3 separate regions of the Homo sapiens genome follow, and all the other regions are linked to region 3. Evidence: promoter capture Hi-C in 16 types of primary human blood cells and fetal thymus (Javierre and others, 2016). All regions are on one chromosome and are shown on one strand. The core of a region is centred on a gene start or on the middle of the fragment in contact, and the rest is flanking DNA. Distances in the headings are between cores, read along the strand shown.

The links. Contacts are between HindIII fragments. The CHiCAGO score rates a contact against its expected background, and 5 or more counts as called.
Region 1: a fragment that was not itself captured here is called in contact with the fragment with the promoter of CD44-AS1 in region 3 in 1 of 17 cell types (activated CD4 T cells); the score reaches 5.6 in activated CD4 T cells.
Region 2: a fragment that was not itself captured here is called in contact with the fragment with the promoter of CD44-AS1 in region 3 in 1 of 17 cell types (activated CD4 T cells); the score reaches 5.4 in activated CD4 T cells.

Annotation. Positions count from the first base shown.
Region 1 is chr11:34,962,524-34,965,223 of GRCh38, reverse strand. All of the region lies in intron 5 of PDHX (pyruvate dehydrogenase complex component X), which reads right to left. Among named protein-coding and RNA genes, the nearest start is that of MIR1343, 22 kb to the right of the region's middle. The HindIII fragment of the contact is 2,698 bases long and covers 33-2,700 here.
Region 2 is chr11:34,982,758-34,985,457 of GRCh38, reverse strand. PDHX (pyruvate dehydrogenase complex component X) reads right to left here. Exons shown (of 11, transcript NM_003477.3): 9 at 730-888. Among named protein-coding and RNA genes, the nearest start is that of MIR1343, 42 kb to the right of the region's middle. The HindIII fragment of the contact is 1,927 bases long and covers 469-2,395 here.
Region 3 is chr11:35,213,727-35,216,426 of GRCh38, reverse strand. It overlaps CD44-AS1 (CD44 antisense RNA 1), which reads left to right and starts at 1,417. Exons shown (of 2, transcript NR_174965.1): 1 at 1,417-1,596. It overlaps CD44 (CD44 molecule (IN blood group)), which reads right to left. Exons shown (of 18, transcript NM_000610.4): 15 at 1,513-1,575. RefSeq lists an enhancer at 988-2,187. The HindIII fragment of the contact is 2,794 bases long and covers 1-2,302 here.

The DNA of each region.
Region 1 (2,700 bases), core at 132-2,631, 250 kb after region 3:
AACCACATGAGCTTGGAAGAGGACCCCAAGCTTCACATGAGTCCCCAGCCTTGGCCAACACTTTGATTTCAGCCTTGTGAGACCATGAGTTCAGAACCTGGCCATGCTATGCCAGGACTTCTAACCTATTGAACTGTTAGAAAACAAACAGGTATTATTTTAAGCTGGTAAGTTTACTGTAACTTGTTATGCAATAATAGAATATCAACACAAGCAGGAACAGTCTAACTGGGGTGCAAAAATCTGTATCGTTAATGCCCGAATACATCTATTTAAAAAAAAGGTTGCTGACACTAAATTGACACATTTTTAGCATAACTATTACTTATTAGCATATTTAGTAATATGTAATATTTAGTTATGCTAATAATATGCTAATAGCTAGCTAATATTAGTTATGCTAATAGCTAATATTAGTTATGCTAATAGCTAATATTAGTTATGCTAATATTACATATTTAGCATAACTATTACTGCTACTTTATTTTTTAAAAAGCAGTTTAGTTTTATCTCTGTAGTAATTAAGGTTCTTGGGTAGGTTAATCATAAAGAAGCAAGAACAAAATTGCTTCTTCTTGCTCACAAAAACTTGTATTGCTGATTTTATTTTTTTTTTATTTTTTAAAGAGTCTCACTCTGTCACCCAGGCTGGAGTGCAGTGGCGCGATCTCAGCTCACTGCAACCACCGCCTCCAGGGTTCAAGAGATTCTCATGCCTCAGCCTCTTTAGTAGCTGAGATTACAGGTGTGCATCACCACGCCTGGCTAATTTTTATATTTTTAGTAGAGATGGGGTTTTACCATGTTGGCCAGACTGGTCTCAAACTCCTGGCCTCAAGTGATTCGCCAGCCTTGGTCTCCCAAAGCACTGGGATTACAGGTGTGAGTCACTGCACCTGGTCTTTTTATTGCTGATTTTATACTTACATACCTATGAAGTATAAATCTTAATTATTGTTTAGTAACAGCCAATGATTTAGTTTTTTGTGAGGCAGAAAATGGTTTTAATGATTTCTGCACATTAAATAATCAGACTAAACTTGGAGCATTAGGTAGACATTAAAAGCTATAAAAATTAGGAGAAAAATATACCACACAAATTCATTCTGGCCACTGGCAGAAATAGGCAGATAGGCAGAGGATGCTCTGGAAGTTAACTCAGGTACAACCTTCTCTACTGGGTTCCCTGAGAGAGCAATTCATTTGGGTGTGACATGAATTCATTTTGAAAATACCACTAAAACACACTAGGCACTTGCCTGTCATACTTACCTAATTTTTGATGCTGTGTGATGAATACAAACATTACTACAACTATGATTTAGGACACAGATGTACCAAAGACATTGGGGCTGCAGGCAAAGAAACTAAATGTGTTCTGCTTCTAATTGTGGCCTCGACACTGCTTTCTTAAAACAGTCACATGTACAAGCAAAGTCAAGTCTATATTCTTTGGTACAACATGTATTCTGAGCAATGCTTGTTTTAAGGCAAAATTAAAATAGCAGCCCTGATACCCAAGATTTTCTTCACAAATACAGTGGGCTGGAGGCATTTCCTTCAGCATTTGGAACTGATTTTTCTACCCAGACTTTTAGTGGACATGGTATGGAGCATGTCCTCACCGTGTCAAGAACGTGTGTTGGCTGGGCACAGTGGCTCACGTCTGCATTCCCAGCACTTCGAGAGGCTGAGGTGGGAGGGTCACCTGAGGCCAAGAGCTTGAGACCAGCCTGGGCAACCTAGTGAGAAACCGTCTCTACAAAACTGTTTTAAAAATTTAGCCAGGCATGGTGGCACACCTGTAGTCCCAACTATTTGGGAGGTTGAGGTGATAGGACCACTTCAGCCTAGGAGTTCAAAGCTGCAGTGAGCTATGAATACACCACAGCACCCCAACCTGGGTGACAGAGTGAGAGCCTGTCTCTCTCTTAAAGAAAAAAAAATTCAAAACGTTAAAAAATAAAAAAGTGTGCTAAGATATTTTGGGGACAGCTATGCCAAAGCCTGCAATTTTTCAACCATAGCAGAAGACGACATTAGGCTAAAATTTTTTCCAAAGCTCACCTTAATGATAAACTTAAAATGCAGGCATTTTTAGCAGTATAGAAAAGCAAAAATCCTCAATAATATATGCTTTCAGGATCCATTTTTCTCATGAAATCTTTTGTACTAGTTCTTATTTTGAAGACCAAAGGCTGATGCCTTTCTCGTGGAGAGTTAAGGAATAAAGGCAGGGAAGAGAAAAGGGTAACAGGGTAGAAAAGATGGCAATAATACTAAAAGCCTAACTCTTTAATACTGCTTCCTTATGGTATTCAGGAGATAATACCATTTTGTTCTTAAGAAATGTTTCATTAATATTATAACTTTCAACTCAGGTTTAAAAAAAGATATTTGCGCATCATATATGTATTAAGCACACATGGAAAGAAAAGGAAGGAAGAAACCTTTATTTCTTTATTTTACTGCTGTCACACTACTGAACACCATATTACCAAATTTAAGAGGCTTTTCTTAGATCCTACCATCCTTGACTTTTCCCACATTTCCCAGGTATCCTCCAACTCAAGGATTTTAACCTCTAGTTTCCCTATTGATGATCTCAATTATAACTATTGCTTTATTATCTACCAAATCTACCTCTCTAATCCCCAACTATCTCCTGAGATACATCTTCATCTCATTGATCCCAATACC
Region 2 (2,700 bases), core at 183-2,682, 230 kb after region 3:
TACGTCCATTTCTTTTTTGAGATGGAGTCTCATTCTGTTGCCAGGCTGGAGTACGGTGGCGCAATCTCGGCTCACTGCAACCTCTGCCTCCTGGGTTCAAGTGATTCTTGTTCCTCAGCCTCCCGAGTAGCTGGAATTACAGGCACGCGCCACCACACTCAGCTAATTTTCGTATTTTTAGTAGAGATGGGGTTACACCACGTTGGCCAGGTTGGTCTCAATCTCCTGACCTCGGGATCCACCCACCTCGGCCTCCCAAAGCGCTGGCATTACAGGCGTGAGACACCGCGCCTGGCCGCTAAGTTCTTTTAATGGTCTCAATTTTAGAGAAGAAGTAAATACACTTTAAGAATAAAATGTTATTAATATTGAGGTCCATAGAAATACAGTTTCAGCTTAACTTCAACTTTAAAACCTACCTGATATAGCATCTTTATGGCTGAATTCTGGACTTTGGAAAATAAAGCTTGTCTTTAGCATGAAGTTGTTCCCTAATTTGTTTATATATTATCTCTTAATTTTTGAATATTAAATTTTCTTACAATGGGTCATACTTGGATAAAAACTTTAAAAACCTATATATATGTGACAATCACTTGATGAAATAACTCTCCCCTTCACACACACAAAAATCACAGTCTGACTAGATTACGTCACAACTTTATCAGAAAGTAATTATCCAAAAGTATATGCTAACATTTTGAAAGCACACTCTTTCTTAAGACATACCTTTACAGAGTCAGCAATTTCCTGGATACCTTTAGCAGCAGCATCTTTTATGATTGGAGTAAGTAAGCCTTTATCTGTTGCCACAGCCACTGAAATGTCAATAAATGGCAGTTGCTTTGGGCCCTCTCCATCCCAGCTTACATTAACATCTGGCATTTGCTAGAAATAGAAAAAGAAAAATGTTACTAAAAAAGCAGCTTTAGACCAAGGCGGTTACAGAAAAATAAAATCATTGTGCATTTTCCAAAGTGAACATAGCTAGATAAGAGAAAATAAATAAAAATTTCGTTTGAAAAAATGGTATGGAGTTCTGTGTCAATTATCTTTTATGTTTGCCAAGAATAATTAAACATACCACCTTTTTGAAGCAAGTTTGAAGAAATTCTGATGAGGTACATGTTTTGATCCTTTATATCATGGTGGGGAAAAAGGGCTTTCTTTCCTGATTGCAAGAAGTTATTTAATGTCTGTTGTACTTCCTACCTCATATGATAACGAACATGATCTTGAGGGGAGGAGGAGAGTGGAAACAGGTAATAATATTAGATCACATTATTCCTTACTTTCTAGCCCAGCTCTGGGATATATATCAGCAGGCCCTCAATACATGACATCCCTATTTAAAAGAGATATCTGTTCCATTGGTCTATATCTCTGTTTTGGTACCAGTACCATGCTGTTTTGGTTACTGTAGCCTTGTACTATAGTTTGAAGTCAGGTAGCGTGATGCCTCCAGCTTTGTTCTTTTGGCTTAGGATTGACTTGGCAATGCGGGTTCTTTTTTGGTTCCATATGAACTTTAAAATAGTTTTTTCCAATTCTTTGAAGAAACTCATTGGTAGCTTGATGGGGATGGCATTGAATCTATAAATTACCTTGGGCAGTATAGCCATTTTCACAATATCGATTCTTCCTACCCATGACCATGGAATGTTCTTCCATTTGTTTGTATTCTCTTTTATTTCATCGAGCAGTGGTTTGTAGTTCTCCTTGAAGAAGTCCTTCACCTCCCTTGTAAGTTGGATTCCTAGGTATTTTATTCTCTTTGAAGCAATTGTGAATGGGAGTTCACTCATGATTTGGCTCTCTGTTTGTCTGTTATTGGTGTATAAGAATGATTGTGATTTTTGCACATTGATTGTGTATTCTGAGACTTTGCTGAAGTTGCCTATCAGCTTAAGGAGATTTTGGGCTGAGACAATGGGGTTTTCTAGATATACAATCATGTCATCTGCAAACAGGGACAATTTGACTTCTTCTTTTCCTAATTGAATACCCTTTATTTCTTTCTCCTGCCTGATTGCCCTCGCCAGAACTTCCAACACTATGTTGAATAGGAGTGGTGAGAGAGAGCATCTCTGCCTTGTGCCAGTTTTCAAAGGCAATGCTTCCAGTTTTTGCCTATTCAGTATGATATCAGCTGTGGGTTTGTCAAAAATAGGTCTTATTATTTTGAGATACGTCCCATCAATACCTAATTTATTGAGAGTTTTTAGCATGAAGTGTTGTTGAATTTTGTCAAAGGCCTTTTCTGCATCTACTGAGATAACCATGTGGTTTTTGTCTTTGGTTCTGTTTACATGCGGGATTAAGTTTATTGATTTTCGTATGTTGAACCACCCTTGCATCCCAGGGATGAAGCCAACTTCGTCGTGGTGGATAAGCTTTTTGATGTGCTGCTGGATTTGGTTTGCCAGTATGTTATTGAGGATGTTTGCATCGATGTTCATCAGGGATATTGGTCTAAAATTCTCTTTTTTTGTTGTGTCTCTGCCCGGCTTTGGTATCAGGATGATGCTGGCCTCATAAAATGAGTTAGGGAGGATTCCCTCTTTTTCTATTGATTGGAATAGTTTCAGAAGGAATGGTAACAGCTCCTCCTTGTACCTCTGGTAGAATTCGGCTGTGAATCCATCTGGTCCTGGACTTTTTTTAGTTGGTAAGCTATTAATTATTGCCTCAATTTCAGAG
Region 3 (2,700 bases), core at 168-2,667:
AAATCTGATGGTGAGCCTCACTCAAACTTGGGCATAAAAAGGGGAGACAATAATTGATATGGCTTAAATCATTTACATGGGGTCACCTGGATTTATGATGTTCAGGGAGACCACAGTAAGGCAGCACTGGCAGAACCTCCCAGTAGCCCAGCAGTAGAAGTAATTAGTAAACCTACCTCATGTCAGACTTTTGCAGTCTGGGGTAAGGTTTGTAGGGGTGTGATCTGAATCACAACAAACAGGAGTCTATTTAAGAATTCATGCCTGGGAGTAATTATGGTCATTATGGAATGCCTTCTCCAGACTGTGCTATGAGAAGTAATACAAGGCCCTCCAGGCTTGAAAGGTGGCTCCATCACTCTCTGGTCCTGTCAACTCTGCCAAGTTACTTACCTTCTCTGAGCCTTAGTTTCCTCATCTGTAACATGGGGATAATAATAGTACTTACCTATGTCACAGAGTTTATAGGATGACTGAATGAGTTCATACTAGATAAACTCTATGAATTTGCTGATATTAACCTGTTTTTTTGTTTTTTGTTTTTTGGTTTTTTTTGAGACAGAGTCTTGCTCTGTCACCCAGGCTGGAGTGCAGTGGTGCAATCTTGGCTCACTGCAAACTCTGCCTGCCAGGTCCGAGCAATTCTCCTGCCTCAGCCTCCTGAGTAGCTGGGATTACAGGTGCGCAGGACCACGCCCGGCTAATTTTTGTATTTTTAGTAGAGACAGGGTTGGCCAGGCTGGTCTCGAACTCCTGACCTCGTGATCCACCTGCCTCGGCCTCCTAAAGTGCTGGGATTACAGGTGTGAGCCACCGTGCCTGGCCGATATTGACCTGTTCTTGACCTACAATAATGGCAGTTCCATTTGGCCCAACCTAATACATGTAAAGTGTTTAGAAAGATGCTGCTGGCACACAGTAAATTCCCAACAAATACCAGTGATGATATCATGTGCCAGGATTATGCTAAATGCTTTACATGTATTCTATCATTTAGTCTTTGAAACAATGTCCTGTGACAATTGTTATTATTCCAAGTTTATTAGTTGAGAAATGTTGTCTCAGACCCTTTAAAGCATCTTGCTCAGTTAATATGCGGAGGGCTGGAATCGAACTCAGGCCATTTTTGCTACAAAGCTCAAGCTCTTAATCACTCTGGTGTAGTGCAAGGTTAAATTGGGACACTGCTTGAATTCTTCCTGAGGCTTTCAGATGCAAGGCTTTCCTCCAGAGCAGTAGCTCTCAAAGTGCAATCCCTGTCCCAGCAGTGTCAGTATTACCAGGGAACTGATTAGAAATGCAAATGCTTGGGCTCCACCCCAGACCTACTGAATCAGGAACCTTAAGGGTGGGGTCCAGCATTGTGGTTTAATAAGCCCTCCCTGCAATTGTGATGTATGCTAAGAAGGTTTGAGAACCACTTCTCTGGAGACACTGACTCATACTTCGTTGGTAGTCATCATTAGGCTCAATGATTATAACAGTAAATGACTAAAGCAGTTTTGAACTCACCATCTGATTCAGATCCATGAGTGGTATGGGACCCCCCACTGGGGTGGAATGTGTCTTGGTCTCCTGTAATGAGCAATCAGGAAGGTCAGTACTGCATGTTTTCACTTACACTCCCATCTGCATTTCTTTACCTTTGCATTCTTATACAGCCTATCACAAAGTTTAGTCTTTTTAAGGTATTCCAAAAAATGATGGCAAAACAGCCTTGAATGGGTCCACAATGTTAATTACCGTTCATTGCTTAATCCACTGATAAATGAGCTAGAACTTTAATAAGAATTAAGGAAACTGGGGCAGCAAAGGCTAAGAAGGATGACCACAGGAAGTTTTGTAGAAACTTTGTTTTGGTAGAAATCCAAGAACTGTGGTAAGGAACATGCTAACAAAAATATTGTGATATCTTTGCAGGTATGAGGTTGAGACTAGACATTGTACATTTTAAATAAGGACAATATGAATTGGATTATGAGAAACATAATCACTGCAAATGGGCATACTCTGGCTTAGGGCATGAAACAGAGATTTCTTGGCGGCAGGAAATTAGTATGCAATAAGGAATCTTGGGATTGAATGATGTAAAGATTCAAAGAGAAAGGTCAACTACTTATTTTCAAAAAAAATTGAAAATAAGTAAAAAAGGAAATGGTGAGATGATAGCTAACATTAATAATGTGTATTGGAATATGGGTATTATAGTAAGTTTAAAATAATTTTTTAAAGTTAAATCTGTAGTTTCAACATGACTAGTTAATATAATCCTAGCTTCTCAAACATCTATCACCAGAAAGCTTTAGATTAAGACAACCTCATGAATTGCTAGAATCTAAATCCATAGGTCAAATCTTGAATGCAGCATATTAAAACTCTCTCCCCCACCCACATTTTTCAAAAGCATACTGGAATCTTTTTTTTTTTTTAATCACAGGACAATGCTTACATAAAATGGCTACAGTTATCCATTATGAAGGCACCTTATAAGGAATCTATAGTAACCTGATCGTCACCATTTCCTTGATTAGAGAAGGTGGAAGCGGGTGACACTTAGTCACCTGTGTAACTATATTGAAGAGACAGATTGCTTTGTTCCTTGGCTGATGGTTAAAACAAATGAAAACAACATTTGCTGAAATGCCACACCAATACTCCCACTACCAAAATCACCATGACCGTCACCATCCCATCACCATC